Regions from separate parts of the Homo sapiens genome. Here region 1 is linked to region 2. Evidence: promoter capture Hi-C in 16 types of primary human blood cells and fetal thymus (Javierre and others, 2016). All regions are on one chromosome and are shown on one strand. The core of a region is centred on a gene start or on the middle of the fragment in contact, and the rest is flanking DNA. Distances in the headings are between cores, read along the strand shown. Region 1 holds the start of CDH26 (cadherin 26). Region 2 holds the start of LINC02910 (long intergenic non-protein coding RNA 2910).

Region 1 (5,191 bases), core at 2,643-5,142, 95 kb before region 2:
CTGTACTATGTTATATTCCCCCCAGCAGTGTAGAAGTGTTCCCTGATTGTCACATCCACACCAACGTCTACTGTTTTTTGATTTTTTGATTATGGTCATTCTTGCAGGAGTAAGGTGGTATCGCACTGCGGTTTTGATTTGCGTTTTGCTGATCATTGGTGATGTTGAGCATTTTTTCATATGCTTGTTGACCATTTGTATATCTTCTTTTGAGAATTGTCTATTCATGTCCTTATCCCACTTTTTGATGGGATTGTTTTTTTCTTACTGATTTGTTGGAGTTCATTGTGGATTCTGGATATTAATCCTTTGTCAGATGTATAGATTGTGAAGATTTTCTCCCACTCTGTGGGTTGTCTGTTTACTCTGCTGACTGTTCCTTTTGCAGTGCAAAAGCTCTTTAGTTTAATTAGGTCCCAGCTATTTATCTTTGATTTTATTGCATTTGCTTTTTGGTTCTTGGTCATGAAATCCTTGCCTAAGCCAATATCTAGAACAAGCAAAGAAAGTTTACCTTTTATTTTATCTGTTTACTACTTTAAACAAGGTAATGTGATAAAAAGGTCATGTTAAGGTAATCAGGGTTAATGTATCACAGATTGTGTTTTAAAACTTGCTTACTGCAACCTTAAGTATTGGTATAATATAATCTCAAATTGTCTCTTTCAGAATTCTCATGCAAAGACTCCCGGGTTGCCACAGAGATCCCTGTCCATAGGGAGGCTCTTTCCCATCTCTCCTCCCTCCCACTTTAATTCCAAACTCAAAAAGGCAGATTAATCTAAGCTTAAAAAAGGTTTTAGTAGAAATAATTTGAAAACCCCAGAGCCCTGGGATATTGTTGGAATAACGATTTTTAGTGCTTTGGAAAGTAAAAGTTGATTTTTCTTTTCTTTCATTCTTCCCCATCCCTTCCCCCTTAATAAAGTTATCATTCTTGTCATTTTCTAGTTTTTTTTGTTTGGTTCAAGAGGATAAGATTATAGAAAATAGTCACTAACATATCCTGCTATAGAAAGAGATGATTGGACCTTCTATTTGGAAACCAGAACAAACAAGGAAACAAAGAAACAAATAATTCTGCTTTCCGATAGGTGCTGGTTTTACTTCCGCTGGCTGAGCTGTTGTTCCTGAGGTCAGACCCCAGCCAGTCTTTTGTGTACGTGCAGGACCATGGTGGCTTTAGTTTCTACCCCACCCTTCCTAGGAACTCTACTTGTGGCAAACGTATGTTCAAGCTTACAAGTCAGCCCACCCCACTCTGATAAATGCAAGAAAAGCTGAAAAGGGAGGAGCAAGATGGGATGAAAGCATCTGGGCCAAAGTGACCTGAAAACCTTTAGAGAAGAAGCTGCTGGCTGAGAAGGAGGTGTGTGGCTCCGGTGAGACCACCAGCTTGGAGGACTGGTCATCAGCTGCACGTTCTGGGTCTGTCTTGGGTATTCCCATATGGCCATGAGATCCGGGAGGCACCCCTCGCTGCTGCTGCTTCTAGTGCTGCTGCTGTGGCTGCTGCAGGTAAGCTGAGCCTGCAGCCTAGTGCTCAGGTGCAGGGAACTGAAAGCAAAGCACAAGCTGGCCCTGCCCCTTCTAGGCTAAGGGAGGGGAGAGGGACTGAGTGTGACCTGCTGGGACCCAGGGCTGGCTGTCTTGAGAATGGCTTAGGTAGCAGGGGCTCTGGATTTATATAAAGGGAAGTTAAGGGTCCCAGTCTGTTTGGGGCAACAGTGGGAGCAGGCTAAGGGACCTGTTTAAAACTAATTTATATAGTTCACACTATTTTTAGTGAGATTACATCAACACACACGTGTTTTCTTTCTTTGTTTCTTTCTCCTTTTGTTGAGACAGGGTCTGGCTTCATCATCCAGGCTGGAGTGCAGTGGCATGATCAAGGCTCACTGCAGCTTTAACCTCCCAGGCTCAGGTGATCCTTCCACCTCAGCCTCAAGAGTAGCTGGGACTACAGTAACTTACCACCACGCTGGCTAATTTCTGTATTTTTTATAGAGATGGATTTTCACCATGTTGCCCAGGCTGGTCTCGAACTCCTAAGCTCAAGTGATTTATTCGCCTTGCCCTTCCGAAGTGTTGGGTTTACAGGCATGAGCCACCTCACCCAGCCAACACACACAATTTTTTTTTTTTTTTGAGACAGGGTCTCGTCATCCAGGCTACAGTGCGTGGTGACATCTCAGTGCACCGCAACCTCCTCCTACTGGGTTCAAGCAACCTCCTGGCTCAGCCTCCCGAGTACTGGGACTACAGGTGCACGCCACCATGCCCGGCTAGTTTTTGTATTTTTATTAGAGACAGGGTTTCACCATGTTGGCCAGGCTGGTCTCAAACTCCTGACCTCAAGTGATCTGCCTGCCTCAGCCTCCCAAAGTGTTAGGATGACAGGCTTGAGACACTGCGCCCTGCCAAGTTTTATAATGATACTTCTGTTCACACTTTACATAAGATTGAGGAAATCTCAGTTGTCTGGATCCAAGGCAATTTGAGCAAACCCATGGGGATGGAATGGCTAAATCCATTGCCCCCAACTGCCACTGTTTAAATGGGAATACAAACTAGTGGAGTCAGGATTCGAAACACATGGGCTTGCTCTGTTTGTACTTAGAGTGGACAGAGGTAATGTTGCATGCGCTTGTTGGTTATGATCTGCTTCGTTGGCTTTCTGTAGGTAGGGAGAGGGAATCATTTCTTCCTTTGAATACCAGCTGAGGGTGGGAAGCAGCCCAGTGGCTGGTAACTGTGAGCTCTGGACTGGGCTGCTTGGCGTCCTGACCTAGGCTCCTTCACAGCCCGCTGGGGACCTAGGCCAGCTTAACTTTGTTCCTTACCTTGGATCAAGTTGAACTTACCTAGGGAGCTTCAAGGGATCTCAGTGCCTGGGTTTTGCCCCCAAAGGTTCAGGTTGAGCTGACCTGGGAGTGCACTGGGTGTCAGTGCACTGGTTTTAACATAACCTTGTTAAGCCTATTTTTCTTCACCTGAAAATGGAGCTAGTAACTGAATTTATCTGAGCCAGTGGTTGTACCAGTGAATGAGGAAATGCGTAAAAGCCCTTGGTACTGCGAAAGTTGTCAGAATCAGAATGGAGTTCCTTATGTTAAAACACACACACACACACACACACACACAGGCACAAAGCCTGATATATAGACACAAAGAAGGTTATGAAAAGGGGGTTCTCACATTTGTAGGCTTGATAACTAAAACTATCACAAAAGCTCTGCAAAAATAACAACTTTGCACAAAGGCCGTTAAAACCTTACACAAAAAATACTTTTTCGAAGAAATCTTCCCAGCAACTTTTTGTGCAAACTCAGACCAGTGTCACCCTTCTTATTGATCTTTGTAGCCAAAGATAATTATTTCAAAACAATGATATAATCCTTCTCATTTTTTCCTTTGAAAACCTTTATCTCCCTTTACCTCCCTGACTCTGCACATCGTTTACCATGGCACACATATTCCCATGGATATGTCCTTGCCCAGACAAACGTCATCTTCTCTTAGAGAGCCTCTGTCTACTATTAGGTTCACAGTTCAGTAACGACCCAGCCGTTTTTCTAATCACAGTGAAAATGGTTGGCAATATTCATTCAGAGCTCATGCTAAAACTATTTACTGGATACCTGCTTTGGGCCAGGCACTGGGAATACACCAATAAACATAATAGGGGGAAAACCCTGTCTGAAAGTGGATAACTTGTTTGGTACCAGTTGCTTGAGGTTTGGAGAATTTTCTTGGTCACATTTTGCCATATCAAGAGTTACGAGTTTCCTTAGTCAGACAGCACATTAATTTGATCTCCAATACTTCACAGAAGTCCTTTTTAGTAGCCCATGTTTGCATGGATTTGAATATAGTCCAGATCAAATCCTGTCCCCATCCTTCCCTCACTCCTGCTCCTACCCACAATGAGTCTGATCAGGAAACAGACCTGAATTCTCTTCCCTCTGGCGTATTAGTGCAGTGCCAAAGCAAATTAATTGACTTCTGAGGGTGGTTGGGTGGGGGTGGGCAGTGGGAATGGGTCTGTGGATTGTACTTCAGTGATTGATGACAGCAGCTTTATGTAGATTCCAGGGAATCAAGACAGATGAAGAGAACATGATTCAATAGATGTAAGAAGTTTTTAGCAATCAGAATGCTGGACCTTTAACTCTTAAAGAGCTTTACACCTGGCAGGTGCTCAATAATTGTCAAATTGGCTATGAGTAACATTCCGTTCCATTCCTTTACATCCCCGCCCCCTGAATTGGCTTATTGCCATCTGTGACATCTATGACAGATACCTACTTCCCCCTGTTCAGATCTCCATATTTACAAGCTGATACCATTTCTGCTGGAGAGCTATTGTGTCCACAATAGTTTTCCTCTGAAATCCCCACACCCTTTCTTTGTCATTTGGCCATGAAGCCAAATCACCAAGTCAGGATTCTGTTCTGCAGGTTTATGTCTTTGTTCCAGGTTCAGTGACAAGTAATGACAAGCCAAGGAAGAGGAGTTTTCTCCCCTTTTGTCATTTCCAGGCCTCTGAGCTCATATGTCCTCACCTTGGGGCTGTGGCAGGCTTCAAAGACCAGAGAAGAGGGAAGTTTTAAGAGAATGAAACTGTACAATGAGAAAAGCCACTTATGATTTTTTGTTGTTGGTGGTGGTGGCGTTGTTACCAATCTGGGAAATTCTGAATTGAGTTACATTTTAATAAATTGTTAGCATTTATGCTCTGACTGAATTACTCTTTCAGCCCTTCATTTAAGACCAACAGAGTGATGGGTTGCAGAAGGTGGGGATAGTGTGGTCAGAGGTGAAGCTGAGAGGGTCAGCAGGGGACAGAGCAGGTTGGATTCTGTCCTAAGAGAAGTAAAAACACTGGGGGGAAAGGGGTGTGAGATCTGTGCTTTTAAAGATCACTCAAGCCTCTGTGCAGAGAATGTGTTAGGAACATATATTAGTGTCCTCAGACTGCTGAAACAATGAACCACAAACTGGTACGTCGGCTTAAAATAGGAGAAATGTACTCTCTTGCAGTTCTAGAAGTCAGAAGTCTGAAACCAAGGCGTCAGCAGGGCCAAAATCCGTCTGAGACTGGGAGGACCCTCCCTGGCCTCTCCCCAGCTTCTGGTGGGTTGCTGGCAATCCCAGCTGTTTCTTGGCTTGCAGCTACGTCACTCCAGTC
Region 2 (5,560 bases), core at 2,178-4,677:
AACATGCAGAAGTTACCCACTATATGCCAGTTGGCCCTGTGCCAGGGGGCCTTCTATCATACTATCCTGTAGAGGTAACAAGAAGTCCCAGCCTCAAAAAGGGGCTGGCAGGCTGGGTCCTAGTTCTTCTTTGCCATGGCTCCAGCATGGACTTATACCCTGGATTGGTTGTCTCATTTCAAAGCAGGGAAAGATCTCTGAGAGCTTTGCCCAGCTCCCTGGATGCTCTGCTCCAGGTGATCTTGGCACCCTCTTCTGGGTCTGGCACCCACACACTGGCACACCTTCCATGACCCTGAGGCTCATGCAGCCTCCAGACTCACCTACCAGTTCTCTTCCTGGGATTCTCAGCTTTCTAGCATACCCTCTTCCAGAGGTGGGAGACCTCCAGTTAAAAACAAAATTGTACACAACCGCAGCCTCATTTCCATTGTTTAAGAAATTAATTATCTTGGTGTATCTTTTCCAATAACAGCTTTCATTAAATTAAACCCAAGGCATTTATATTCCCTGGGAATAACAGGCTGCTTATATATGGCGGGAATGTGCTGGAATTTCTTTAGAAATCAGCACATTGGCTATTGAGGACTAGCTGGTGATCACAGGTATAGGTTTTGAAGTTAGATTGTCAGGATTAAAATCCAGGCTCTGCCATTGCTGGCTGTGTGGTCTTGAGCAAGTTACATTACCTCTCTGTGTCTCGGCTTGCCCATCTGTGCAATTTGGACAGTAAGAGTTCCTATCTCCCAGGCTTGTGGTAAGGATTAAACACGTTCATGTAATGATCAACAAGGTTAACTATGAACATGCTCACAAAGACACACATGGGCTCTTCTGGCGCAATAGGGACGTGGCCTGGAAGCTCACTGCCACGTGGCATTTGGGACCACAAGGGATCAGACCTCATCGTCTGTGCACAGATAGACAAGATCATAAAGAGGAAAAATTAGCATCGGGAAACTGGTTATTTATTTAAGATTGAAAGCGGGAGAAATCTGCCCTGGACATCTTCCCCTCTCCTCTGTTTGTTTTGTCTGCCAAACAGAGGCAGTACCCCCTCTCCACTCTATTTATTAATTGAGTAAACTCCGTGATCCTAAATGCAAACAAACATGGGGCCAGCACAAACAAGCACGTGCTTCCTGTACGCGCCACTTCTGAGTAGCAGCCCGAGCAACAGGTGGACTGGCTGGGAGACAGAAACGGCTGCAGAAGGCGCCTCCAGGATTTGGCGTGAGAGCCCTGCAAGGTCAGCCCATGTGCTCCTTCTTTGTTAGATTGTTTGTTCATTCATTTGTTTATTCATTCCTTTATTCAAGTGTTTAGTGAGAACTTCCATGTGGAAGACAAAGACCTAGCTCACAAGGGGTGCATGGTCTAGGGAGCTAGGTGTGGACAAAGAGCCACGTAGGATGTCAGTGCTGAGATGTGGCAGCCACGGGGAGCTATGGAAGGGGGCAGAAAGAAGACCCCAGAGCTCAGGGAAGGCCTGCAGGGCAAGTAGGGAGTTGTCAGCCCAGCAAAGAGCCAAGAGTGTGAGGAGAAGGTCTGCCAGCGCCTGAAGGGGAGAAGCCATGGTTCACCAGCTTCAAGAGTTGATACAGTTGAAAGCATCATCTCTCCATGGCCAACATCCTGGGCTGTGGCTTTAATTTGGGCATAGTGTGTGCCTGCAAAACCTCGGCTGTATTCAACCTAGTCTGCCATTGATGGAGTGAGAACTGCCCCCAAATTATTTACATTCAAATTTGGAAGCAACTGAAACCCAACAGTAGGAGATTCATTACAGTAATTCCATGGAAATGGAATAATACGCTGTCGTTAAAAGTGTTCAAATCTTTTATGGTTATGATAAATCTAATAATAAAATCGAGACAATATTAGAATATATATTTTAACATTTTCCTAGTTTTGTGAAAAAAGCCCCAAATATCTGTATGAGCCTAGATAAATGACAAGAAAGGAAAACAGTAAGATTTTTATAATGGTTATTGCTCAATGGTTGGATTTTTAAAAATACTCTTCTATAATTTCTAAATTTTATGCCCTGAGGATGTATTACCTCCATAGTCAGAAAAATTATGAAAGGTATTTAAAACCCAAACTGGCTTTGGGCATGCAGAATGCTTGGTTATTTCTGAAGTATAAAAATAACTCCCCCTCTGTCCCATCAGCACGCGTGTTGCAGGGAGTCTGACGTTGCTCGCTAAGTCTCTTTGGTCGTTTCATACTAATGCCCTTTGCTCCCCTGATTATCTCTCTGAGGTTGGGGCCGGGGGATGGGGGTGTGCTAGGCCTCCTGGATGTCTGTCTGCTGCCAAAACATCCTCTCCTGTCTCTGTCTCATTGGTGCATTTTGATGAACCTGTATTGCCTGGTCACTGCGCGCTAACCACCAAATTATGAAACATTTGTGCTGCAAGGGAGCTGAGAGATCCTTAAACTCAATGAACCATTAGGCATAAGACACACACACACACATACACACGTGAATACACACAAACACACAAACAGCTTGGCTGCTCTGGGTGAAGCATGTGTGTGTTTGGGGGAAATTTCCTTCCCCACCCGTGGTCGTCCATTTGCCCATGAGCAGCTTCCGAGGCAGGTCCGTGGACCCCAACGCTGTGTAACACCGTGTGAAAAACACAAAGGCTTGCAGCCCTCTCACTGCAGACGTGGGAACACGACTCTGTTTAAAACCCTTCAAAGCCCGCCTTCTTGCCGTGTGATGCTGCCTGGGCCAGCAGGGCAGGTCACCACGCTGTCTCTTCAAAGCAGCTCGCTCATGCCCACAGCGCTGGGCACAAGGGCAGCCACGAGCTGTTTGATTTCTGCGTCCCCAGCAGATGGCTTGGTGCACAGGGGCAGGGCTCGTCTGTCCCTCTCACTGCTGCGTCCCAGGCTATGTCTCCACCATGTAACTTCAGACAAGTTCCTCAGCGTCTCTGTGTCCTGGTTCCCTCATTTGTAACATCAGGATATTGATAAGGATCATAGTAATAGGGATGTCCTTATGGGGCCTCATGAAAATGAAGAGTTCTCTGTGATGTGCCTGGAACCACAGAGGGCAGCAAGTGGGAGCCACAGAAAGTCATCTCTTTATCATAGTTGTCATTGGTAACTATGACGGTTATCAAGGGCAGGGGTCTCCCACCTTCTGCATCCAGGCCTTGTCATTCCTTATAAAATTTTCTCCTTTCAAGGACTTTCAATGCCCTGAAAACGGAATGCTCCTCCCTGCTCCCCATCAGCTGCTGCAGAGCCCTGAACCCCTTGAACTTGCCTTGCTTAGTTCTTTCAGGGGCTGCCTTGGATGCCACCTCACTTCCCTCTTCTTGGCTCTGTGGCTGTCAGAGGGGCTGGGCACTGGGTTACTTCATCAGTTCCTGGGTGTTGATCGGCAGGAAACAGTGGTTTCCTGTTCATATCCTGCCTGAGCCTGGGCCGGGTGGAGGTGTCCTGCATGGAGTCTTGTGAAATCGCGTGGACTGCAACACCCAGCAGCGCGGTGAGTCCACCCTGAAATCCACAGTGACCCACGCGGCATGTGCTGGGAATTGAACGCTTGGGGAAAGAGCTGGGCTCCAGCGGATCAGCCCCGACCAAGTCGTTCCCACAGCTCAGGACCGGACGCTACAAGCCCACTTTGTAGCAGTTTGGCGGACGGCAAACTTTTGCAACACAGTGCAAAAACCATTTAACACCTTTAAGGGAATTGGAAATGGGTTTTTCATGTGTGGTGGTGCTGAAAATTGAGAATAATGACAGAATTATTAAAAACAGCCTTCTCGGCCTTAGACTCTTAATTGCCTCTGGTCTGTAAAACTGACAAATAAGCACTGTAGAAGCCACAGATGAAATATGTCGTCTTGGGAGCCCTGGAGAATTGTCTCTGAATTCTTTTGTTTATGGATTGTAGAAACTGCTTTGGGGGTAGTTGGATGTAGAAGCAGAAGGACAGAGTGGGGAGCTGGGAGCAGGAGGCCTGGGTTTGTCTCCTGAGTCTGTTTCCACTGGGGCCTGAGGCTCCCGTGTGAGGGAACATGAATGGGCCAGGCACATGGGCCCTGTGGGGTGACAGAGCTGTGGGCTCCATGGTGGCTCTGTGGGCAGCTAGCTTGGGGATGGCTGAGATAAAGACAAGTAGTTTTCCTTCCTGCAGGACTTCTCAGAGCCTTTAGTGTGGTTATAATGATAGAAAACAGTATTAAGTCCATACCCTGAACCAGAAACAATGCTAAAAGCTTTGCACTTGGCCTTTTTTTTTCTTTTTCTTTTATCAACATGTGTGAGGACGGAAGCTTAGGCTTACAGATATGGACTCATTGAGAGTGAGTGGACGTGTCTGATCTTTAACCCAGTTCTGTCTGACCAAAAAGCCTGTGCTCTAACCACTGTGCACCCCTGCCTGTCTGTCCTGTTGAGAGAACTGTAGGGAAAGCCTTGAGATTATGTATCCAGTGCTCCCCTCCTCCTGATTGGAAGATGGCAGCTCAGAAGGTTAGGGTGCCTTCTCCTGTCCTCCGAGTGGTTAGATGCACGTGTCCTCTTCTGTCCTCTGCTCTTCCCACATCCCTCTCTCTCTGGTGCTCTGGTGGAGCCCCTGGGATCAGGGGTCACAGGAGCACCTGGGCCATTTGCATGGTTGTTGGTAAAGGGTGTTCCCCCACCCCCCATTAAGGTGCCTGCCATCAAAGTGCCTTATTGCTTGAGTTCCAATCTCGGCTTCACAACTCTGTAGCTGTGTGACTTTGCACAATGTACTGAGCCTCTCTGTGCCTGAACATCCTTGTTTGTAGATAGTAAAGATAATTGTCCCTTACTCCTAGGTTTCACATTGAGTGTTTAGCAAGTTAACGTTTGTAACGTGTGAAGTCATAAGATGCAGGACTGGATGACTGCCCTACCCACAAGAGGCCTAGGATCTTCCCAAGTTGCACTACTTATGGGACAGGTCTGCCAAGCAGCCCTTGTGAAGATAAAGGTGGTGATGAGTTCCTCCCACAAAACAAGAGCCTCAGAGAGACTGGAAAATAACCCCCGGTGCCTTTTATCAACTGGCCAGCAGATGGCAGAAGCAAGCCAGGAACAGAGCTTGTGTGCGGCGGCTGTGGCAGCTACCTTTGAAAATCCCGTGGTGTTTGGTGGTCGTATTAAGAGATCTCTGGTGTAGGAGCATCCTTCATTCTAAGCAGGATTCTGAACAAACTCAGAACTGGCTTTGTGGCTGGTACCGAGGACCCAGGGGTCACGGCTGCTCCCAGTGGGTGCTGATGCCCATTTGTTTGTGCAAGTTGGTCCCCTGTAGGGAGGACAGATGGTCTGTCTCGGACTTTCTGGCCTGTGCACCAAGGCCCAGGGATGGAAGTGGGGCAGCATGTCCCCATCATTAAATAGGGCGTTCTTGATAATAATCCCATAAGGCCTAATGTGATGGGTGTGGTCAATCATTCATTCATTCTGTGAGGATTCAGTGAGCAGCTACTCCATGCCTCTAGGCTCTGAGGACGCAGCATGAGAAACACACGGAAGGCCCACGATGACCAGGGAGCTCGCC

What was found. The method cuts DNA at HindIII sites, captures the fragments that hold promoters and counts their contacts. A CHiCAGO score of 5 or more calls a contact.
Region 1: a contact is called between a fragment that was not itself captured here and the fragment with the promoter of LINC02910 in region 2, in 1 of 17 cell types (neutrophils). The highest score is 5.4, in neutrophils.

Annotation. Positions count from the first base shown.
Region 1 is chr20:59,957,278-59,962,468 of GRCh38, forward strand. CDH26 (cadherin 26) reads left to right here and starts at 1,146. Exons shown (of 18, transcript NM_177980.4): 1 at 1,146-1,518. The coding sequence starts at 1,450. The HindIII fragment of the contact is 5,313 bases long and covers 1,237-5,191 here.
Region 2 is chr20:60,052,498-60,058,057 of GRCh38, forward strand. It overlaps LINC02910 (long intergenic non-protein coding RNA 2910), which reads left to right and starts at 3,428. Exons shown (of 4, transcript NR_161293.1): 1 at 3,428-3,511. RefSeq lists enhancers at 5,116-5,165, 5,176-5,355, 5,451-5,560. The HindIII fragment of the contact is 13,245 bases long and covers 1-4,245 here.